2 separate regions of the Homo sapiens genome follow, and region 2 is linked to region 1. Evidence: promoter capture Hi-C in 16 types of primary human blood cells and fetal thymus (Javierre and others, 2016). All regions are on one chromosome and are shown on one strand. The core of a region is centred on a gene start or on the middle of the fragment in contact, and the rest is flanking DNA. Distances in the headings are between cores, read along the strand shown.

Region 1 (5,711 bases), core at 2,132-4,631:
TCGTTCATGGTCCACCTCCTTCCTCTCCCCTGATTCTCCACACCCTCACTTCTTGCCCTCCCCACACCTCTCTTCCCCCTAAGCCCATACCCTCCCCTGAGAAGTGTAAGCGAAGCTGAGCAACAATTTAAGATGGTTTTATTTCTCCTTTGCTTCTGGACACATTAATGTATTTTAGATGAAAGAAAATTAATGATTTTAGGCTGACACTCTATAAATGAGACATGGAAAAGCACTGTGTTGCTTGATTTAGGTATTTTAGAAAATAATAAACCTGTACTCTGAGCAAGTTGTATATGTCCTGGAAAGGCAAGTGATGGATTTGCTGCAGTTCAGGGCTCAATTTACAGGATTTACATATTCCAGAGCCTGAAAAAAACAGAGGCCCAAGAACAAAGACTTCTGCTATTTCTGTAATTTAACCACTAACTTATCTGTTTATGTCTATCAAAAACATAAACGTAAGGATTTATCTAACTACTCAAATAACCTCTTAAAAATAATTGAAAAATTAAGTCATTAAAACCAGCTACCTTTTATCTATCCATTACATTAAATCATTTTGTTTTTAAGGAGGTCTTTGGAAACTAAATTAATCAGAAGGTTTGGTAGAGATTCTATCTCGCCAGTGGTTAAAGGTTCAAAGAAAAAGTCATTATAATGTTCGAGTTATGTTCAGTATTCTGGCAGAGGCAACAAGTCATTGTCAAGAGTTCTCAAATTGTTATCTATAAAAAATGTATCAGTGAGGTGCTGCAGGAGCAAGTACTGGCACAAGTTGATTATTAAATATTCAATTCGATGATGTTAAATTGTTGGCAGCTTGAAATTGTCTATAGTGGGAGTATTTATACCAGGGAATTAGGCAAATTCTTGAAATCAGGGCTTTCTCCACACCCCAACTCTTCCCAGCTGTTTTTCCAGCACACTGTTGAGTATGCTTAAATAAGCCATACATCTGAGGGTTCTTTTTGGGAGAACAGAAATGTCCTAAAACTGATTTATGGTGATGGTTGTATCACTCTGTAAAGTTAGTCAAAAGTATTGAATTGTACACTTGAAACGGGTATATTTTATGATATGTAAAATAACCTCAATAAAGTTGCTAATCGAAATGCCCCTAAACCAACAAACAAAATATCAACATTTATTAGTAATTTTAAGATTCAAGTACACACCCAACAGACTTAAAATGAAAAACAAGACCACATTTACCTAATGCATTTGGTAGATACATATTCTATGCAGTGATCATCAACCTAGGGTCTCACTTTGGAATTACTTGGAGAGTTTGACAAGAAAACACCCATCCCCAGAGATACTGAAATCATTTGTCAAGTCTGTGGTTTGGGTGTCAAGATGTTCCAGAGCACAGCCAAGGTCAAGAACCAGGACTGTAGAGCAGTTTTCCCAGATAACTGCAGGTTGCCCATTGCTATAGAAATCATCCTCATGTTTATTAATTGTTCACGCCTTCTGAAATAGGGAAATCTGGCCATGAATGTACCCTTTTTTTTTTGCAGGGAAGTGGTGTGACTCAGTTTTGTATTCAATGTCTATTCTTTGCACATGGAGGAAAGACACAGTCCTATTCCACCCGTGGGTTTCACCTGTAGTTGCTTCTTGCTGTTGACATCATGGTGGGGCACAGAGACAGCATCTAATTCATCTTTGTCATCTAAGTGTGTTCCCACAGTACTCAACCATAGACTCTGGGTTCTAGGATTGTTTGTTTAACTAAAGGACCAGAATTGAATATATTCCTCTATCTCCTCCTTTGGGGTTTTCTATTACAGTGGGCTGGGAATACAGTTAACAGAACATGTAAAGCATTGTAACTTAATAGTTCAATAAGACACTGAGGGCCACAGTTCAGCTTTAGCTTTTGGACTTGGTGACACCTGTGCTGGATGCTCACAGAAGGGCCTTTTACCTCTTCTGTTTGGGGATTCAATCTAGAGGGATAGAGAGATTCTAGAGCTCTGGCTTCCTAATAAGGGGAGTTTTCTTTAATGAAAATTCCAGGTGTTTTATCTGATTTGCCAAATGAAAGTAGAGTTCAATTCCGAGACCTCAGTTTTATAATCTAAAGACAGGAATTATTAATAAACTTTTACAGTAATACAACATAAAAAGATACAATCTCTGCAGCCTTAACACAGAGAGATTTCAACTCTATTTTGGTTTTTCTTTGGTTTCGGACATAGCCTGTGGTAGGTTGGATGCCCAGCTTTGCTATGTAATTGATGTGTGACTAGCAAGCAAGTTATTCAAACCTGTTTGGTACTTGTTTTCATCCTTTGTAAGATGAAGATGACAACAGCTCCTATGTCATTGGATTGCTATGAAGAGTTAGAGCTATTTGTCCAGGCAGAAGGTAAAGGTTTTGCCTCTCCTCATGCACAGGTGTCAAAGCCACCTTCATTGGGATATTCCCAGTGCATTAGGCAGTTTCTCTGGGAAATCCCCAATTCCTCTCTTGTGTAATACTTGTTTCTTATTAAATACCCGGATGAGTTGTCATCTGGGTCCCTTCTTAAAGACAGAGCTCCAATGACTCCACCTACCTATGCTTACCTGTTTGAAGCAGAAATTTTATCCTCTTCCTGGATTGTTGGTACTGAAAGGCTCAAAGTTGGCTCTCTGGACATACATACGATATCAAATCTCACAAATGCAGTATCAGGAGAAAGAAATATACAAGCGAGACTGTTGCAGGAACTTCCTCATTCTCTGTCTTTTGAAAAAGTCCCTCTCCCTTACAGTAGGGTAAGCTTTCTGTTTATCTTACCAGAAACACAGTCCTTTTACTGTCCCTGGGTCAGTGCTAGAAACTCTTGAACAGCGCATTTATTCATAAACCAGAGCAACATCAAGGAAGCCAGGCAACATCACCTCTATATCCCAATTCTGTCCCTCTTCTCAAAGAATGTCCAACATTTGATTTTTTTCCCTATTTTCTCAACCAACTTGTTTTCACATCTAGAAAAATAATGCCTGCTTTTCCAATGGAATTAGCCCCAGACAAGAAGATACTTAACAGATACAAATGAATAAAGTGGAAAAAAATAAATGGTTGAGGTGGCAGAGGGCAACAAGGCACTGAAGATAGTCATTAATCAAAGCATGCAGGTGGGAGTGCGGAGTCAATGTCCACCCACTAGGTACTTTGAAAGGAGATCTGCTGCCTTACCCCAAGTCCTGGAGCAGCTCAGCCTCTCCATCGGATCTGCTCCACAGATCTGAGGGATCCTGGGTGCTCATCTTCCCTTCTAGAAGTTCTGCTCTGCCCATTCGCGCCCTTCACAGAGGTAGAGAGAGAGACACAACTGGGCTGCTCCTGACACCTTCTCGCTCTGTGAGACAGCAGCCTGCTATGGCTCTGAGTCTCCAAGGCAAGGAAGTGAAACTTGGTTACTTACTCCTCCCACCAACACCACCACCCTGGCCTGGAGGCACTGGCAGGAGTGTTCTGTCAGTCAGGAAGTATGCAAACTTAGGTAGCTACCTCTGAGGACACCCACACTACATCACGCAACAGGCGGTTGCTATCAAAGGAAATGAAGAGGCAACCACCCCACCTGGGATTGGACAACAGTGCAAACTGCTTGTGTGAGGCCAAACCCTAGCTTCTCCCTAATGCTATCAGCCTCTGGTTTGTAGTGGAGGATGCGTGCACTCTTTTACCCCATCTTCTTTCTGTCTTACACACCAACACAGGGAACACTGAGGAAGCTTCTCTATCAGGAACACCTTTAGAGTGGATAGAAAAAGCAGAAGCAAACCACAAATTCGACCCTGAAGTTTGATGTTTTAGCACTTTTGCAATATTTCTGCTTGTTTACCCAGACCTTCTAATATATCCTCAATGCTCCGAATAGGGATGATTCAGAGACAATTATTGTTTCCTCCACAGAAAAAGAATTAGGAGAGGAGAAGGTAGGAAAAAGTTACAAGGGGCCATTCTGGTGCCCACCTAATGGGGCATATTAGAACTCCTGGAGTCTTTTTTTTTTTTTTTTTTTGAGACAGTCTCGCTCTGTCACTCAGTCTGGAGTGTAATGGCATGACCTGAGATCACTGCAACCTCCACCTCCCAGGGTTCAAGTGATTCTTCTGCCTCAGCCTCCCAAGTAGCTGGTATTACAGGCACCCGTCATCATGCTCTGCTAATTTTTGTGTTTTTATAGAGACAGGGTTTCACCCTCAGGTGATACACTCACCTCGGCCTCCCAAAGTGCTGGGCTTATAGGCATGAGCCACTGCACCTGGCCTGAACTCCTAGAGTCTTTGAGTGCCACTTCCTTCATGGGCTTACTCACACCTGCATGGCTTTGTGCCCAGATTCATATGTAGAGCAGGATTCTATCTGCCTGGAATGCTAAAGGTAAATTGCAGTGACTGAATCCTTGGGAAGTGGAACAAAGTGCAGTATCAAATGAGTCAAGGACATATGTTGCTTCCTGCCTTTTCTATGTACCTACAGGTCTCTCTCTCCCTCTCCCTTTCTCTCTCTCTCTTCCTATCTCTACTCCCTGACTCATTCAGCACTCACCACAGTGCTCTGTAACTTGTTCTCACAGTGTGGCCTGAGGACTAAACAGCACAGCAGAACTGTTCCTAAAGGACTAGATGATTGCAAAAGGCTGCTGTGCAATGGTTCTATCCTTCATCTTCCTCCCTATTACCACTGTTCACCCGGGATCGGTGAGACCCGGGTAACACTGGTTGCCAGTGGGAAGTTCCTGAGTGTCTGGAGGCAGTCTGCTGAAGACTAAGCTCTGATAATACATATATAACTGACTAAATGAGCACTTAAATTCTTTTGGCTACAGTTTGCTCACAGAGAAGGACAGGGCCCACTTGAACAGAGAGGCCAGTGCAGGCCAGGGAGATACTGAATATGCATACAGCAGTGACAGGGGAACAGCCTGGGCACTAGAGTTCCTGTTCCCTCTCTAGAGCCCTTTATTTGGTGTTTTAGTATCTATTTCATTCCCATTTTTAGCAAATTCTGGTTGTTCTTTTTCTTAACTTTTTTGGAAGTACAAGTAGCAGAATTTTCTAAGATCGTCCTGCTTTTCTGGCTGAATCTTCCTGCCTTTTGCCCTTCCTCATGTTGCTGTCCTGTCTGTTGCCCTCTCCTTTGATGTCATTGTCCCACTTTGTCATTTACTCAATTTTTCACAGTATCCCTACCACCCCGCCCACTCCACTAACTACACACTTAGTTTTGCAGTGGTAACAGCTGCAGGAGGCTTGCTAGATAGTTTCAACAAAATGCTGGAGCCCATCCCTCCCGGGACATCTATTGCTGTGTAACTGAAAGGGGATTTAGAATCTTGTTCTGGGCCGGGCGTGGTGGCTCATGCCTATAACCCCAGCACTTTGGGAGGCCGAGGCGGGTGGATCACCAGGTCAGGAGATCGAGACCATCCTGGCTAATACAGTGAAACCCTGTCTCTACTAAAAATTCAAAAAATTAGCCGGGCATGGTGGTGGACGCCTGTAATCCCAGCCACTCAGGAAGCTGAGACAGGAGAATGGCGTGAACCCGGAAGGCAGAGCTTGCAGTGAGCTGAGATCATGCCACTACATTCCAGCCTGGGCAGCAGAGTGAGACTTCGTCTCAAAAAAAACAAAAAACAAAAAACAAAAAACCTTGTTTTGGAACCAAGGCCAGCATCATGTCTGTTCTTATCCTTCAGTGC
Region 2 (5,711 bases), core at 1,373-3,872, 3.3 Mb before region 1:
CCACAGTGAACCTGGTTACGAAGAAAACTCACCAATCATCTCCTTCCTGTTAATCACATGTTAATGAAAATAAGCTCTTTTTAATGATGTCACTGTTTGCAAGAGTCTGATTCTTTAAGTATATTAATCTCTTTGTAATCTCTTCTGAAATCATTGTAAAGAAATAAAAATATTGAACTCATAGCAGGAGAATAGTTTTTAAAATAAATCTCGATTTGTTAGCATCTGTCTTAGTCACTTTGGGCTGCTATAACAAATTACCATAGATGGAGTGTCATAGACAACAAACATTTATTTTTCAGTCTGGAGGCTAGGAAGTGCAAGATAAAGGTGCCAGCAGATATAGTTTCTGGTTAGGGCCCACTTCCTGGTTTGCAGATGGTCCTCTTCTTGCTGTATCCTCACATAGCAAGAGCAGAGAAAAAAAGCGAGCGCTCATGTGTCTTTTTATAAGGACACTAATCCTGTTCATGAGGGCACTACCCTTATGACCTGATTACCTCCCAAAGGCCCCACCTCCTAATGTATCATATTGCAGGTTAGGATGTCAACACATGACTCTGGGGTGATACAAATAGGCCATTGCAGCATATACAATTAAAATGTAAATATGAAGAAAAAAGGAAGTTTTTGTTTTTTTGTGGGGGAGATGGGGGTTAAGGAAGAAGATAGTAATTTCAGGACTAGGCATGGTAGCTCATGCCTATAATTCCTGCACTTTGGGAGGCCAAGGCAGGAGGATCACTTGCGGCCAGGAGTTCAGGACCAGCATGGTTAACAGAGGCTAAGGCAGGAGGATTACTTGAGCCCAAGAGTTTGAGGCTGCAGTGAGCTGTAATCATGCCACTGCACTCCAGGGTGACAGAGCAAGACCCTGTACCTAAATAATAATAATAATTTCCACTTCATTTTTCAATATTCAAATATTTTTATATAATTCTGCATTGTTCTGTATGTAGATCCTAATTTTAAAATTTTACACCATCATAAATGAACAAAGGTAGGAAGGAGTTTGGCTTCAATAGCTTACAGTAAAAGGAGTAAAGGAGTTCAGCCTCAAAACGATATTGTTGACCTGTTATGTTATGAAAAATAATCCAGTGTTTATACTTAACGGATGCCATCCCTTATTATTTACTATTTTCTTAGTCTAACTAAACAATCTTTATTAAAATAAGCAATGATATTTGACATGGGCCTAAGAAATATATAGTTAGCTAACAATATTGTCAGTTAGAGGGATTTCTTTTCTAAATTAAGTACAGATTTCTTCACCAAACTCCAGGATAACAGAAAAGAGGACATAAAATTTGGACATAGTTTCTGGATAAATAAATGTAAATTTAAATATAAATTATGTAACAGGAAACAAACGAAATTAAAGAAAATAAATTTTTCAAGAAAAGTAAATTTATGGATGTTAATTCTGTAACATTGTCAGGGCAAAGTTTTTTGTTTTTATTTTAATTTAAGGGTTTTATGTTTGTTTTTTACTTGTTGCAACCTCAAATGACCAAATGGTATGATGCACACTGAGATACTCAATAAATGTGCAGTGATTCTTAGCCTTTTTTCCTAGAACTTTAATATTAACATGGAAAATTCTGAAATGGACAACAAAAAGATAACACTTTGTGTATGGGGAAGAATATCATGCAGTTGATGACGGTACATTAAAATTCACACAAAAGGACATTTTGACTAGCATTCAGAAAGAGTCCATTGATTATAAGATTATCTATGAGGTTTTGGACCGGGCACTACACTACCGAATTATGGCTAACTTTGGTTTGTGATCTAGACCAAGTCACCCAATCTATCTTGGATTTTAGTTTTCTGGTTTATGAAATTAAGGAGTTAAGCTAAATGACTTGGGTTTCTTTTCGTGTATCATAATCAAAATGCTGTAACTTCTCTAGTGAATTCATAGAACACTGACTCTTACAAGTATGTCATGAAATACTTTATGCTGTGAGCAGGTATACATGTATAATATATGTATAGCTATGAACAAATAAATTTTAAATAAATGCACAACGAATTCTACAAAATGGGCTCCAACATTAACAAATGATCTGAGTTAGTCTTTCTCACAGCCGACCATAAACTATAAAACATTTTTATAAACACTATCAGCAATAAAAACGAAGTAAAATCTAGCCAAAAAATTCAATGTTCTCCAAAGTCATGTTAATCAAATCAGGTGATATATTAATGAAGTACATATGACTAAAAGGAAAAATATATGTCATTCCTGTGGTAAGAGGAAGCTGAATGTCACTAGAAATTTTTACAAGCTTTAGGAGAGGAAGAGTTCCGTTTAGGAAAATAATCATTTCAGATGATCTGAAGAAGGGTATTGGATGGAACCTATCCAATAGGTTCATCACAAAAGAGGACCTGAGAGACAAGAATGAATGGTTTCTGACTGGTGGAGAAATTTGAGGATAATCTCCCTTGCTTGAAAAGCGGTGATTAAGATTGGCACTTGCTTACAGGAGTGAAAAACAGGTAAGGGGTGCGCGCGTCTTAACACACACAAGAGGAAATACAGAGAAAAGGAAGACACAAACATGAAATGAGAATTAAATGAAATAGAATCACACTGCTGATAGAAGGGTTAAAAATCTAAAATACAACAAGAAGGGCAGGTGTTAAGCGATAAAGGGGGGCAGAACAAGTCTTTTATCCGGCCATTTAATTGGTCACCTTAAGAAAGAATCCTATCTTCCCACCGCAGCTGAGAAGACACTTCTAAGAGGTACAGCTAAAAGGTGGAGGACTGATAGACAACTTAGAGGTTGGTTTCGGGAACGATAAAACAAGTAACGGGCTGCCCGGCCTGCGCCGCGGAGTCCCGAGGAGCCTGCGCTGTGCTCCTCTCGCGGTGTCTCGTCATCTCCGGGAAGACTCGGCGCCTGGGTCCGCGCTCTCTGGGTAAGCTTTCCGGGAAGCTTTCCCGGGAGCTCGCTGGTCCTGGCCCCAGAAGCCTGCGGACCCGCCCAGGGAGGATAAGCAGCTGAAAGACCGCGCGGTGCCGCTCCGAGGCCCCGGGACGTGGGCCCATGGTCGGCCTGGCGCCACCTTTCCGGGGGAAGCCACGCGCACCAGGCATCGCACGCGGCTCTGCACCCGCGCCGCCGGACCTGAAACCCGGCGGAGGGCACACGGGGCTGCCGCTGCGGGCCCCGGACCAACCCATGCTTACTCCGGAGCCTGTACCGGCGCCGACGGGTCGGACCTCCCTGCGCGGTGTCGCCCAGCGGGTTCGTGCGAAAGGCGGGGCCGACTACACGCGGTGCCGCGCCCTGAGACCGTTTATCTGCAGTCAACGCAGCCTCCCGGCTCAGCCTGGGAAGATGCGCGAATCGGGAACCCCAGAGCGCGGTGGCTAGACCGGGCTCCGCCGCCTCCCCCACAGCCCCTTTCCTAATCGTTCAGACGGAGCCTGGTCGACTTCGCCGGAGACTGCCAGGTGAGAGGCCCCAGAGACACTAAGGGTAAAAATAAACCCAGCGCCAGCGGCGGGTACCCTGTAGGCCTGCTGGACCGGAGACGCGAGCGAGGGGCCCAGCCTTTTCTGTTTGTACACCCGGTGACGGGCGCGTGTCTGTTTACTGTTGTAAGGTGTTGGCGTGGGTTTTCTTGCTTGCTTTTATTTTAGTTCTCAGATTAACCAGAGGGGGTGTTGCCTTTGTGGACTGGGTTAGCATCCTCGAGGTGCTAAGAATCATCGTATGCTATTGACTGAAGAATATAACCTTAAGACAGCAGTAGCTGCTGTAAGAGATAAAGTAAAACATCTCAGTAACTAAACATAGTTCAGGCTTATTTCTCGTTCATGTCAAGTCCATTCACGTGTTCAGCTGTTGGCCTTCTACTCAATTATTCAGGAACCCAAACTCCTTTTATATTATGGCTTTGCTATCCCCTAAGACCTTGGAGTCCTTAGTTTCCAGGCAACGGACAGAAAAAGAAAAGCTACTAGAGGATTGCATGAGGATTGTTTCTTATGGGTGAGGACTGGAAATCACATACTATTTATGTCCACATGCCATTGACCAGACTTCAGTCACATGCCACACTGACCTGCAAGGGAGACTGGAAATGTACTATGGACCCAGGCAGAAGAGTAAACGATTTTGGTAAACACATATCAGTCTCTGACCATCCCTTAAAGGGCAGACTGCATCTTAGTCATCTTTGTTACTCTTGTGCCTATCACACCAGAGAAACTTGTTAAGGCTTTGTGAGGCCGAGGTGGGCATATCACCTGAGGTCAGGAGTTCGAGACCAGCCTAGCCAACATGGTAAAACCCCATCTCTACTAAAAATATAAAAATTAGCTGGGCATGGTGGTGCACGCCCGTAATTCCAGCTATTCCGGAGGCTGAGGCTGAAGAATCGCTTGAACCCAGGAGGCACAGGTTGCAGTGAGCCAAGATTGTGCCACTGCACTCCAGCCTAGGTGACAGAGCAAGACTCCATCTCAGAAAAGAAAAAAAAGGAAATGAAACTTGTTAAGGGATGGGGTTGTTATGTGTCTAAAGTTGAAACTTAACCATATTTCATTGTGATTGCTTAGGAATCATTTATCATCCTTTATCATCCTGTAACTAGATTACAAGATCTGAATATAGGAACTATTTAAGACCGTTCACTTCTGAATCCTCAGCTCAAGGACTGGGACGTAACAAGAGCTTAATAGCTCTTGTTTGTTGAATGAATGAATGAATCATCAGAGAGGAAAACGAGGGAGACAGTTTGTCAATGTTGGAGTTAGGAAATACTGAGAAGGTGACATTTGAGTTAGATTTTGAATTTCTTCAAGTAGAAAAAGCAGAAATGAAACTCCAGGCAGCAATAGTAGTGATATTTTATTGTTGTTGTTTTGTTTCATGAGTGGAAATTTGGAAAACAACCAAACGTTTATAAGTCCAACTTTTCTTCATTCAGTATTCAAATATTACAATTTAACTTCAGGGTAGAGGAGGGGAAATACATAATCTTACAATCCAAATAATTTCTGTTGACTAAAAGAATGGCAGTGAAAACCTTGGCACTAATTTTTAACTTTATAAAATGTTATTTTCTGGACATTTTTGAGAAATTTCAATACAAAGGCAGTGTTCTGATCATTCATTGTCTATGATGATTTTGCACTGTAACAAGAAGCTAGAAAGATAGAAACTAAAGTTTGTAAGACAGAGGTTCCTCATCACTGCTGTTCATCAGGGCTTCTCAGGGATGGTTCTGCAACAAAATCACCTGTTATATTGGTTAGGATGCTTTTGGCTGCAAGTAACAGGATATTCAGCCAAAACTCCCTTCAAAAATACAGATGTACTTTGCTCATACATGAAGATGTTTGAAGGTAGGTGGGTCCAGGGTTTGTTCAGTAGCTCAGTAATATCAGGGCTCTATGTTGCTTTCTGTGTTCAGCTAATCTTGACTTTTCTTCATGGGTGAATGATGGCTGCTAGAATTGTCCCAAGAAACCCATCCACAATCCCAACTTCCCTTGCCTCTTTACCTGGTCATTTAAAGACAAAAAGAGGAGAGGATTTTCCTCCTCTCTCTCTGTCTTTATTAAGAAGGAAAATCTTATGTAATATGCCCCAATAGTCTTGCCTACAAATTCCAATGGCAAGAAATGAATCATGCTCACTCCTTAGCCAATAAGTGGCAAAGAGGAATGGTGTTACAGAGAT

What was found. The method cuts DNA at HindIII sites, captures the fragments that hold promoters and counts their contacts. A CHiCAGO score of 5 or more calls a contact.
Region 2: a contact is called between a fragment that was not itself captured here and the fragment with the promoter of DAPP1 in region 1, in 3 of 17 cell types (total B cells, naive B cells and total CD8 T cells). The highest score is 5.8, in total B cells.

Annotation. Positions count from the first base shown.
Region 1 is chr4:99,814,497-99,820,207 of GRCh38, reverse strand. DAPP1 (dual adaptor of phosphotyrosine and 3-phosphoinositides 1) reads right to left here and starts at 3,381. Exons shown (of 9, transcript NM_014395.3): 1 at 3,194-3,381. The coding sequence starts at 3,294. The HindIII fragment of the contact is 961 bases long and covers 2,777-3,737 here.
Region 2 is chr4:103,073,948-103,079,658 of GRCh38, reverse strand. It overlaps SLC9B2 (solute carrier family 9 member B2), which reads left to right and starts at 2,898. Exons shown (of 12, transcript NM_178833.7): 1 at 2,898-3,475. BDH2 (3-hydroxybutyrate dehydrogenase 2) reads left to right here. Exons shown (of 10, transcript NM_020139.4): 10 at 1-2,067. RefSeq lists an enhancer at 2,899-3,018 and a silencer at 3,129-3,238. The HindIII fragment of the contact is 645 bases long and covers 2,300-2,944 here.